2 separate regions of the Homo sapiens genome follow, and region 2 is linked to region 1. The links are contacts of gene promoters, found by promoter capture Hi-C in blood cells and fetal thymus (Javierre and others, 2016). All regions are on one chromosome and are shown on one strand. Each heading gives the region's core, a stretch centred on a gene start or on the middle of the fragment in contact. The rest is flanking DNA. Distances are from core to core; before and after follow the strand shown.

The links. The method cuts DNA at HindIII sites, captures the fragments that hold promoters and counts their contacts. A CHiCAGO score of 5 or more calls a contact.
Region 2: a fragment that was not itself captured here is called in contact with the fragment with the promoter of VIL1 in region 1 in 1 of 17 cell types (neutrophils); the score reaches 5.1 in neutrophils.

What each region holds. Positions count from the first base shown.
Region 1 is chr2:218,416,554-218,421,927 of GRCh38, reverse strand. VIL1 (villin 1) reads right to left here and starts at 2,805. Exons shown (of 20, transcript NM_007127.3): 1 at 2,760-2,805. The HindIII fragment of the contact is 19,335 bases long and covers 1-5,374 here.
Region 2 is chr2:218,156,586-218,161,959 of GRCh38, reverse strand. No RefSeq gene overlaps it. Among named protein-coding and RNA genes, the nearest start is that of CXCR1, 7.7 kb to the left of the region's middle. The HindIII fragment of the contact is 2,056 bases long and covers 1,631-3,686 here.

The DNA.
Region 1 (5,374 bases), core at 1,556-4,055:
ACTTCCCTTCTTCATCTATGAGCTGAGGGGGTCAACTTAGGGGGTTAACTAAATCGATGATCTCTAAAGCCTCACCCAGGGACATGCTGATTCCAGGGTTAACTGGCAGCAAGAGGAATAGAGGGTGGACATGAGCAGGCACTTCTTGCTTATCAGAGAGGGGATTCAGGGGAGCAGAGACTTGAAAAAGCCAGCGCTCCCCCTCCCCAGAGAGAAATCAGGATTGGGGCCAGCCCCCACAGGCCAAAGGTGGGCAAGGGGACTCAGGAGTGGAAGCTCTGAGATGTGGCCCCCCTACCTGGTGTATACCCTCCAGATGCTCCTGCCCTCTACCCATGTTGGTCAGAGCAGATGCCTCTCCTCCACCCCTTGGTAGGGCCTCCTCCTCACTTCTCCTGTCTTCCCTGAACTTCCAGGAAGACCAGGGCCCGTCACTTCCCCCAGCCCTGCCACCGTGGACTCTGGTTTGGATTTGAGTTGTCTCCTCCTTCAGTTTTAATTCACTGGCTTCCTCCACTCCTGGTACTTTCTCTTCTGTGTCCCCAGACCAGGGAAGGGCATGGTCACCCCAAGACCCCAAAGTCAGCCATCTGTGCAGCATCCTGGACTCTTTCTGCTCCTGCCCTTCCATCCACCTAAACTCCCTTGAGTCTCCCCACTACACACAGCCCCCTGGCCCCTCTCTGCTGGCACTCTGCCCTCTAGAAATGCCACACTGCTGGCGGCCCCACCCCCATGCTGCCTCTCACCCCACGCCTGCTTGCACTGCTCCAATATGGAAAGCTCTCCCCACCTTTCTGACACTAACATGCTCTTCTAGACTCAATTTAGATCTCATTTCTTCCAGGAGACCTTCCTAGAATCCTCAGCTGGACAAGGGGCCCCTCTGCATCCTGGACTGTCCCTTCTCTTGGCCCCCTGACCACATGGTGATGAAATAACCTGTTTGTAAGTTGGAGGTCCCTGAGCTCCAAGACCTAGATATGTTTGTCTTTGCAGCCCCCAGCTCCTAGCACATAGTAGGTGCTCAACAAATACTCATGGGCTGGGCGTGGTGGCTCACGCGTGTAATCCCAGCACTTTGGGAGGCCGAGGCAGGCGGATCACGAGGTCAGGAGATCAAGACCATCCTGGCTAACACGGTGAAACCCTGTCTCTACTAAAAATACAAAAAATTAGCCGGGCGAGATGGTGGGCGCCTGTAGTCCCAGCTACGCGGGAGGCTGAGGCAGGAGAATGGCGTGAACCCAGGGGGTGGAGCCTGCAGTGAGCTGAGATCACGCCACTGCACTCCAGCCTGGATGAAAGAGTGAGACTCCTTCTCAAAAAAAAAACAAAAAAAAAAAAAACAAATACTCATGATGCTGAAAGGCTGAACTGTGGGATGGAAGGAGGACCCTCCCAGGGCACTGGAGGGGTTTGGGCTCCCACTGTCTGCAGGTCCATCTTGCCTTTCTTTCTTTTTTCTTTTTTTCTTTTCTTTTTTTTTTTTTTTTTTTGAGACAGAGTCTCACTCTGTCACCCAGGCTGGAGTGCAATGGTGCAATTCTGGCTCACTGTCATCTCCGCCTCCTGGGTTCAAGCGATTCTCGTGCCTCAGCCTCCCGAGTAGCTGGGACTATAGGCGTGCGCGAGCACACCCAGCTAATTATGTATTTTTAGTAGAAACGGGGTTTCACTATGTTGGTCAGGCTGGTCTTGAAGTCCTGACCTCAAGTGATCCACCCCACTTGGCCTCCCAAAGTGCTGGGATTCCAAGCATGAGGCTCTGCACCTGGCCCACCATGCCTTTCTTATCTGAGCCCTGTTGTACTTGAGTTGCGGCTCTGTTGTAAGTGGGGTGCTGCCACGGCTCCTAGTTCCCAGTCGTGCAGCTCTGAGCTGGACAGGAATGTGGTGGGGCAGTGGGGGTGAAGTCCCACCCCTCAGACAAAGGACATCCTCCTGCTTCCCAGGCTCATGATAGAAGAGGGAATGGACACCCGCCAAGACCCTCCAGCCCAAAGGCTCTGCCCCAGCAGATGATGTCCCGAGAAGACAGCAGCCAGTGTGTCCTCAGAGCCTGGTCTGCAGCTAGCTCCCATTCCTAGTTCTGCTGAATGGGCCCACAGTGGCTGGGGAGGCCAATGGGGCAGCTCCGGGTAGAGGGGAGATGGGGCAGAGGTGCATGCTAGGGTGGCCCGGCATGGCCCAGGACCTAAGGCCCTGCCACCTCCAGCCCCTTGCCTCTGCCCTTGCCTCTGTGTGTGCCCATTCAATTGCTGGTGGCTGTTGCTCATATGCTAGGAGCCAGGAGGCAGGACCCGGAGGTCCCAGGAGTGTCAGAGGAATGGTGACACAAAGAAAAAAACACTTCAGATGAAGAACGCACGGGCAAAGAGATGAGCTGGTGGGGAGGGGGCTCGGGGAGTGAGGTCAGGGAGACCAACTAGTCCCGGTCTGCCCAGCACTGTCCTGGTTTTAACTCTAGAAGTTCCAGGGCAATTGGGATGGTGACACCCAAAGTGGGATGGGGCTAGCCACAGGTAGGAGACTGAGAGAGCCATTGTCTGGGGCAGGGCCTGCAAAAGTCTCTCCCTGGAGGCCCAGGGCAGACACACTGGGCTCCCAGCACTTCTCACGCTATCCAGAGTGTCAAGCCTCCCCTTCGAGCCCGTACCAAGGTGCTCCAGGAGGCCCCAAGTTGCCCGAGAAAAGCAGAGGACCCCGTCCCCTCGCACCACCTAAGGTCTCCATGTGTTCCCACCAGGTTGCCTTACCTGTCTTGGGGAGGCAGCTGCCACCTGGGAGATCTCAGGGAATTGTGGCAAGCTGGCTGCAGAAGAGCGACCTTTGTCCCCACCCCCCCTCCTCTAGGAACTGCCTTCACCATATAAGGGAAGATAGGGCCCCAGAGAGGTGAGGGGGTGGGGAGGCAGGTGCTGCCAGGTCCCTGGGAGCCCAGAGCCCTCCACAGCCTGACAATGAGAGCTGATGTGCCCCACCCTTGGCTTTTTTTTTTTTTTGAGCCTCACTCTGTCATTCAGGCTGGAGTGCAGTGGTATGAATTCGACTCACTGCAACCTCCGCCTCCCAAGTTCAAGTGATTCTCCTGCCTCAGCTTCCCAAGTAACTGGGACTACAGACATGTGCCACCATGCCTGGCTAATTTTTGTATATTTAGCAGAGACAGGGTTTCACCATGTTGGCCAGGCTGGACTTGAACTCCTGACCTCAAATGATCCACCTGCCTCGACCTCCCAAAGTGCTGGGATTACAGGTGTGAGGCCCGGCGCCCAGCCCCTCCCTTGGCTTCTGAGTGAGCAAGGGATGGGGTGCTTTTCTGCCCAGGGCCCAGGCCCTCACCACAGGCAGACAGCACTGTCCAGGTAGGGTCAGCGGCGCCTGAACCTTTCCTCCTACCAACCAAGAGAAGGAGGCTCAGCTGTCCTCCCACCTGCCCTGGGGTGAATGGTTCATGGAGAAAGAGAGGCAGGACTCTAGGGTTGCAGAAGCCCCAAACCCAGGAATGCAGGGACTTATACTCAGGGCCCCTCCAGAACAGATGGGAGGTCTCTTAGAGGTCTCCTAGAGGTCTCTTCTCAGCATGACCCTCACTTAGCAAGGGCCCCAGTGAGCACAACTGCTCCTCCTCTCCACCCTTAGGGGCACTGGCTCCACCTGGAGTGTTTTTTTTGTTTTCGTTTTTTTTGCTGAGATGGAGTCTGTCTCTGTCGCCCAGGCTGGAGTGCAGTGGCGTGATCTCATCTCACTGCATCCTCCGCCTCCTGGGTTCAAGTGATTCTCCTGCCTCAGCCTCCCGAGTAGCTGGGATTACAGCCGCACACCACCACGCCCAGCTAATTTTTGTATTTTTAGTAGAGACGGGGTTTCACCATGTCGGCCAGGCTGGTCTTGAACTCTTGACCTCGTGATCCGCCCACCTCGGCCTCCCAAAGTGCTGGGATTACAGGCGTGAGCCACTGCACCCGGCCCACCTGGAGTTTTTATGAGATGCCATAAACCAGTGCCTTTGAACTCTGTTCTGCTACCCTCTCCCAGAAGCCAAGGTTTCCATGTCTGACCCCTGACCCTAGGGGATCCATCTCACTCAGGCAGGAAAGTTGTGCAGCCAACTCCAGCGTGGATCTCGCTGAGAAACCAGCTTCACACGCAAACTCAGCACCTTGGGCAGCTGCCTCCCAGACTGCAGAAATTCTCCTATCACCTGTGAAGCCTGGTCCTTAGGAGGGTGACGTGAAGTGGGCTGGGTGAGGGCAGTACGTCCTTCTCATCACAGCCTCCCAAGAGTTCTGGAGACCAAATGTACAGTAGTCCCCCCCTTATCCAACGGGGGATACATTCCAGGACCCGCAGTGGATGCCTTAAAACCTCGGATCGTACCGAACCTGGCTGCCATCAGCTGGAGCATGTTTCTGTTCGTGTCTTCCACCCACAAATTGAAGCCCCTTCTATTTTCATTAGCACTTATCCTGCACTGTGGCTGCATTTTGCAGTTTGAGGTACACCAGCAAAATTAACACAAATTTCTGTTTCCTTCTTCACAATTTCATGAACAGAAGATGCATTCTTATCATAGATCTTAGCAACCTCAGTATATGATGTTTTTTGTTCTTTCCTTATTGAGAACTATTACCTTTTCATTTAAAGGAAACATTTTATGGCTTCTTTTTGGCACTTCCAAATTGCCAGCATCGCTACTCTTGCATTATTTAGTAAAATAAGTGTTACTTTGGGTGGGGGGTTGTCTTTATTTTTGTTTTTTGGAGATGAAGTCTCGCTCTGTCACCGAGGCTGGAGTGCAATGGCATGATCTCGGCTCACAGCAACATCTGCCTCCTGGGTTCAAGCAATTCTCCCATCTCAGCCTCCCGAGTAGCTGGACTACAGGTGCATACCACCACACCCAGCTAATTTTTCTTGTATTTTTATCAGAGACATGGTTTCACCATGTTGGCCAGGCTGGTCTCAAACTCCTAACCTCAAGTGATCCGCCCACCTAGGCCTCCCAAAGTGCTGGGATTACAGGCGTGAGCCACTGCGCCCGGCCCAATAAGGGTTACTTTGAACACAAGCCCTGCAATGCCATGACAGTGGATCTGATAGCCCACACGGCTGCTAAATGCCCATCAGGGAGCATGCAGCATGTGGAGGTAGTGGACAAAGGGATGACTCACGTTTCAGGTGGGATGGAGTGGGGCGGTGGGAGATCCCATCACGCTACTGAGAATACTGTGTAATTTAAAACTTATGAATGGTTTATTTCTAGAATTTTCCATGTAGTATTTTCAGAACATGGTTGACTATGAGGTACCTGAATTGGTGGATAAAGGGAGACTGCTGTGTGTTTGCGCACATGTGGGCATGTGTGCAC
Region 2 (5,374 bases), core at 1,409-3,908, 260 kb after region 1:
ATCTCCCTCCACCTCTCCTACTGTTTCCTCAAAGTCCAACTTCCTCCTTCTTCACCTTATGCTCCTGCAAGGACAACTCCATCAGAGGCTTCAGTAAGTAAATAGGGATCCACACTGGGTCCAGGGGAAATGCAAATGACTCATAACCTCATGAAAAATGCTCAGTCTCACTAGGAACTAAATGAGGCTCAAACAGCAACAAAATAACTCAGAAGTGTTTTAAACAGGGGAGGGATATAGTGGACTCTTCAAACAAGTGCAACATTTTTCGATTGGATTTTTTTTTTTTTTTTAATGAGACAGGGTCTTGCTCTGTCACCCAGGCTGGAGTGCAGTGGTGCATACACAGCTCACTGCAGCCTCAACCTTCTGAGTTCAGGTGATCCTCCAACCTCAGTTTCCAGAGTAGCTGGGACCAGAGCTGTGCGCCATTATGCCCAGATAATTTTTAAAATTTTTTGTAGATATGGAGTCTTGCCACGTTGCCCAGGCTGGTCTTGGACCCCTGAGCTCAAGTGATCTGCCTGCTTCGGCCTCCTAAAGTGCTGGGATTACAGGTGTGAGCCACTGCACCCAGGCTGATTGGAAATTCTAATGCAGCCTGTAATTTTCTGGGTATAGCTCAAGACACAAATGATTTGGATTTCAGATTTTTAAAAAATGTCAGGATTTTGGTACTTAGTTAACAGCATATTGAAGTACCAAAAACTGATATTTCAATTACTAGATAGGGTGAGGATTAGATCCAGTCAGAGCCAGGGAGAGTGTTTGCCTTAAGGAGGGACTCCCTTGTCCAGGATGGGGCTGGCACTAGGGATGGGGTGAATCTTAGGACAGGAGTGGGGGTCAGAAATGGGAGGGGTCAGTGATGAGATTGGGATTACAGAGGGGATGTACATCAGGGTAAGGTGAGGGACGGGGATTAGGATGTAACGGCATGTTCTGCACAATGCTTCCTGATGTTAAAATCCTAAAGTTTGTTTTGTAGCCTTGGTGACAACGTTTGAGACTCTAAATCAAAATGTGAAAATCTACTGTTTTCCCCTAAACCAGTTCCACTTCTGACCAACCACAGCCTCTCACCACCCCTTGCCCTCCATCCCCTGGCCCATTCTTGTTAATTCCAGCAAAAATACTAATTGACAATCAACATTTTATGCCATAGAGGTAAAATTTGCCCCTTTCTCAGCAAAGTAGTATTTTAATAAGAGTCTTTCAGAGACTGAAAAATCTCATAGATGCAAATGAGTAACATGACAATCTCCTCTTTGGTCTAAGGATCGTCCCAAAGAGGTGCCTTCCTAGAGAAGACCACTCACCAAGAGACAGTGGTGGAGCCCTGTCTTTTGCCGTTTCCATGCAGAGGTCAGAGAGGCCACTCTAGGTTCCACCCAGAAAGCCACAAGGAGCTAACGGCGGAGCTCTCAGCACCAATGTTTTCTTGCAGCCTGGTATTCAGTTTTTAAATCCAAAGTCTTCCTTCCAACCTTCAGGGTAGAAATGAATCAAAGACATAATAAATAAAAAATAATCGAAATATGTTAACTCGACTTTTTAAGATTAAATTTTCTTTCTATTGTCTAAGTATTTTATACACATTGTTGAAAAAACGAAATGGCTTTATGAAGCTTATAACAAAAAACCAGCAGCCTTCCAGCTCCAATCCCTGCAGACAAGGGCAGCAGCTGTCAGCTCTCATAGCTGTTTCATCGGATAGTGATCTATATATTTCTAAATATCATACTTGTTCTGCTAGTTTTTTTCTTTTTTTTGGTCTCACTCAGTCTCCCAGGCTGGAGTGCAGTGGCATGATCTCAGCTCACTGCAACCTCCGCCTCCCTGGTTTAAGTCATTCTCCCACCTCAGCCTCCTGAGTAGCTGGGACTATAGGTGCCCGCCATTACGCCTGGCTAATTATTGCATTTTTTGGTAGAGACAGGGTTTCACCATGTTGGCCAGGCCAGTTCATCACTTGAACTCCTGACCTCAAGTGATCCCCCCACCTCAGCCTCCCAAAGTGCTGGGATTACAAGTGTGAGCCACTGTGACCAGCCCTCTGCTAGTTCTTGTTTTTCTCCCCCTCCAGGTTTAGCTATCATCACTGACTCTCTCTTTTGGCTTTGAGAATGTAATATTCTCCCAGTCCCTCTCCTGCTTTCACCCCAATCCAAGCAAACACAAATACTGCCTTCTCCATTCTCCAGAAACAGATGCCACATTTTTTGGTTAAGTCGACATTCAATTTTTTTGTTATTATGACTATGTAAAAAATTATTCACAGTAGGATCCAATTTTTTTTGTACAAGTTTTGTTTTCCCTGGAATTGATGAGAGGATGTTCCATGTACTTATCATGACATCAGTTCCAATGTCTCCCTCAATACATTCACACTCAGCGGATAATCTATTAATTTTTCTTTCTCAAAGACCTCTCTCCGGGAGTCCTTCATTGTCTTCTTCCAACCTGGACAGGTGACTCTTAGGAAAGGGGCCAGTTCCTCTTTACTAAATTGCTTTGACTATGTTTCCAGAGAAATTTTAGAATCTGCTTATCAATTTCTATATAATGTCCAGCTGGGATTTTGATTTGGATTATGTAGAATTCATAGATCAATTTAGAGAAAATTGACATTGTCATATTGAGTCTTCCAGTCCATGGGCACGATATCTTTCTCTATTTATGTCTTCTTTAATTTTTTTGCAAAGGATGTTTTATAGTTCTTGGTACACAAATCTTGTACATACTTTGCAAAATTTGTCCCTAAGTATTTTATGGGTTTTTTGGATGCGATTACAAATGATATCTTAAAAAGTTTTCATTTTCCAGTTCTTTTTTTGGTTACCATAGTATATAGAAATACAGTTGCAGTATGTATATTGACCTTGTAACTTGGGACCTAAGTAAATTCATTTATTGGTTCTAGTAGATTTTTTTAAAGATTGCTTTGGATTTTAACTGTATGCCATCATTTCAGAATTTAAATCTTCTTTTTAGTTTTAGAATGCATGATGTGTACCTTGGTGGTGTTTTTCTTCATTCATTGTGCTGGGCGCCTGGTAAATTTTCTTAATCTGGAAATTTAGGTTATGTAAATTTATCTGGTATTAGTTCTTTGACAGTGTTCCACCCTTCGTTTTCCTTATTCTTTAATTTTTTTAAAAGAATTATTCTATTTTATTTTATTTTTGAGACAGGATCTCACTGTATCACCTATGCTGGAATGCAGTGGCCCAATCTCAGCTCACTGCAGCCTTGACCTCCCAGGCTCAAGGAATCCTCCTACCTCAGCCTATTAAGTAGCTGGGACTACAGGTGTGTGCCACCATGCCTGCCTGGCTAGTTTTAAATTTTTAAATAGAGTCGGGGTCTCCCTATGTCACCCAGGCTGGTCTCCAACTCCTGGGCCCAAGTGATCCCCTCTCCTTGTCTTCCAAAGTGCTAGGATTACAGGTTGAGTCACTGCACCCTGCCTATTTAAAAAAAAAAAATTAAAAAATCCTCCTGCCTCAGCCTCCTGAGTAGCTGGGGCTACAGGCATGCAACACCACCTTTGGCTAATTAAAAAAAAATTTGTAGAGACAGAATCTTACTATGTTGCCCAGGCTCGTCTTGAACTCCTAGGCTCAAGCAGTCCTTCTTCCTTGGCCTCCCAAATTTCCGGAATTTCAGGCATGAGCCACCAAGCTTGACCTATTTAAAAAAAAAAATTTAGGGGCTGGGTGCGGTGGCTCACGCCTATAATTCCTGCCCTTTGGGAATCCAGGGCGGGAGGATCATTTGAGTCAAGGAGTTCAAGGCCAGCCCGGGCAACATGGTGAAACCCCATCTCCACAAAAAAATACACACATGCACAAAATTAGCTGGGCATGGTGGAATGCACCTACTCTGGGGGCTAAGGTGGGAGGATTGTTTGATCCTGGGAGGCAGAGGTTGCAGTGAGCCAAGATTGCACCACTGCCTTCCAGCCTGGGCAACAGAGTGAGACCTTGTCTCAAAAAAAAAATCCTCCTTCCTTAGCCCCCAGGTAGCTCGGACTACAGGCACGCAACACCATCTCTGGCTAATGTTTAAAATATTTTTTGGAGAGATGGAGTCTCACTATGTTTCCCAGGCTGGTCTTGATCCCCTGGCCTCAAGTGATTCTCCCACCTCTGCCTCTCGAAGTGTTGGGATTATAGGTGTGAGTCACTGTGCGTGGCAAAAAATATACTTATTTTAAAGTCAGATCCAAATTGCTTTATTATCTTTAGCTCCTCAGGTGTGAATTCTCCCATTTGCTGTTGACTGACTGTTGATTGTGATGATTGTCAGCTCTTTGTAACATTTTATTGTTAATTCATCTTTTGAAGGCATTTTTTTGTTTCATGGGAGTCTTGCATGTGCCCTGGATTATGAAGAAGTCTATTCAGGGGTGGCTTTATGGCTGTACCTGCTAGGGCCTTACTGGGTTACATAGCTCAGAGCATTTTTTGTTATTGATATTTCTTGGCCCTGAGTTTCCACACCATTGCAAATGACAGATTTGGGTCCTCATCACTTGATACTAGGGCTTGGGATTCTGGAATGTTCCTCAATTGGCCCCTTTTCTCTCATGACCTAGGAAGGCAGCTCACTTGGGGGTTGTGTCTCAGGCTGCAAAGTGCTTTTCTATCCCCATTCAAGGGCATGGCAGCTCTTTCTTGGTCCTGACAATTTTATAGGCAATCAAGTTGTAGTTTCTGCTATACATGGGGCCTTTAGGGTCACTGGTATTATCATTCCCATCCTTAAGGTACATGATCAATTCTAGTATCTTTCTGGGTTCCTCTGGCTTTAATCCTACTCCCTGATAAGTCCATACATTTTTAAGCTCCCTCTTCATTTCTGGCCCTTGGAGATTTTTTCTCTCTCTCTTGCCTGCTATTGACCTCAGATATTTATTTTTAAAAATTAATTAATTCATTCATTTATTTTTGAGACAGAGTCTCACTCTATTTCTCAGGCTGGAGTGCAGTGGCGTGATCTCAGCTTACTGCAACCTCTCCCTCCCGGGTTCAAGCAATTCTCCTGCCTCAGCCTCCTAAGTAGCTGGGATTACAGGCACCCACCACCATGCCAGCTAATTTTGGTATTTTTAGTAGAGACGGGGTTTTGTCATGTTGGCCAGGCTGGTCTCAAACTCCTGACCTCAGGTGATCCGCCCGCCTCGGCCTCCCAAAGTGTTGGGATTACAGGCATAAGCCACCACGCCCAGCCTTTTTAAAAATTAAAAAAAAAGTTATTTAGGATGCCTATGGAGGGCATGTTTGTGTTGCTGATTTGCTGCTATGCCTCTTCAGCCAGCCCATTATCATGACCAGAAATTCAGATAGCACATCAAACGAAAAACAAAGTT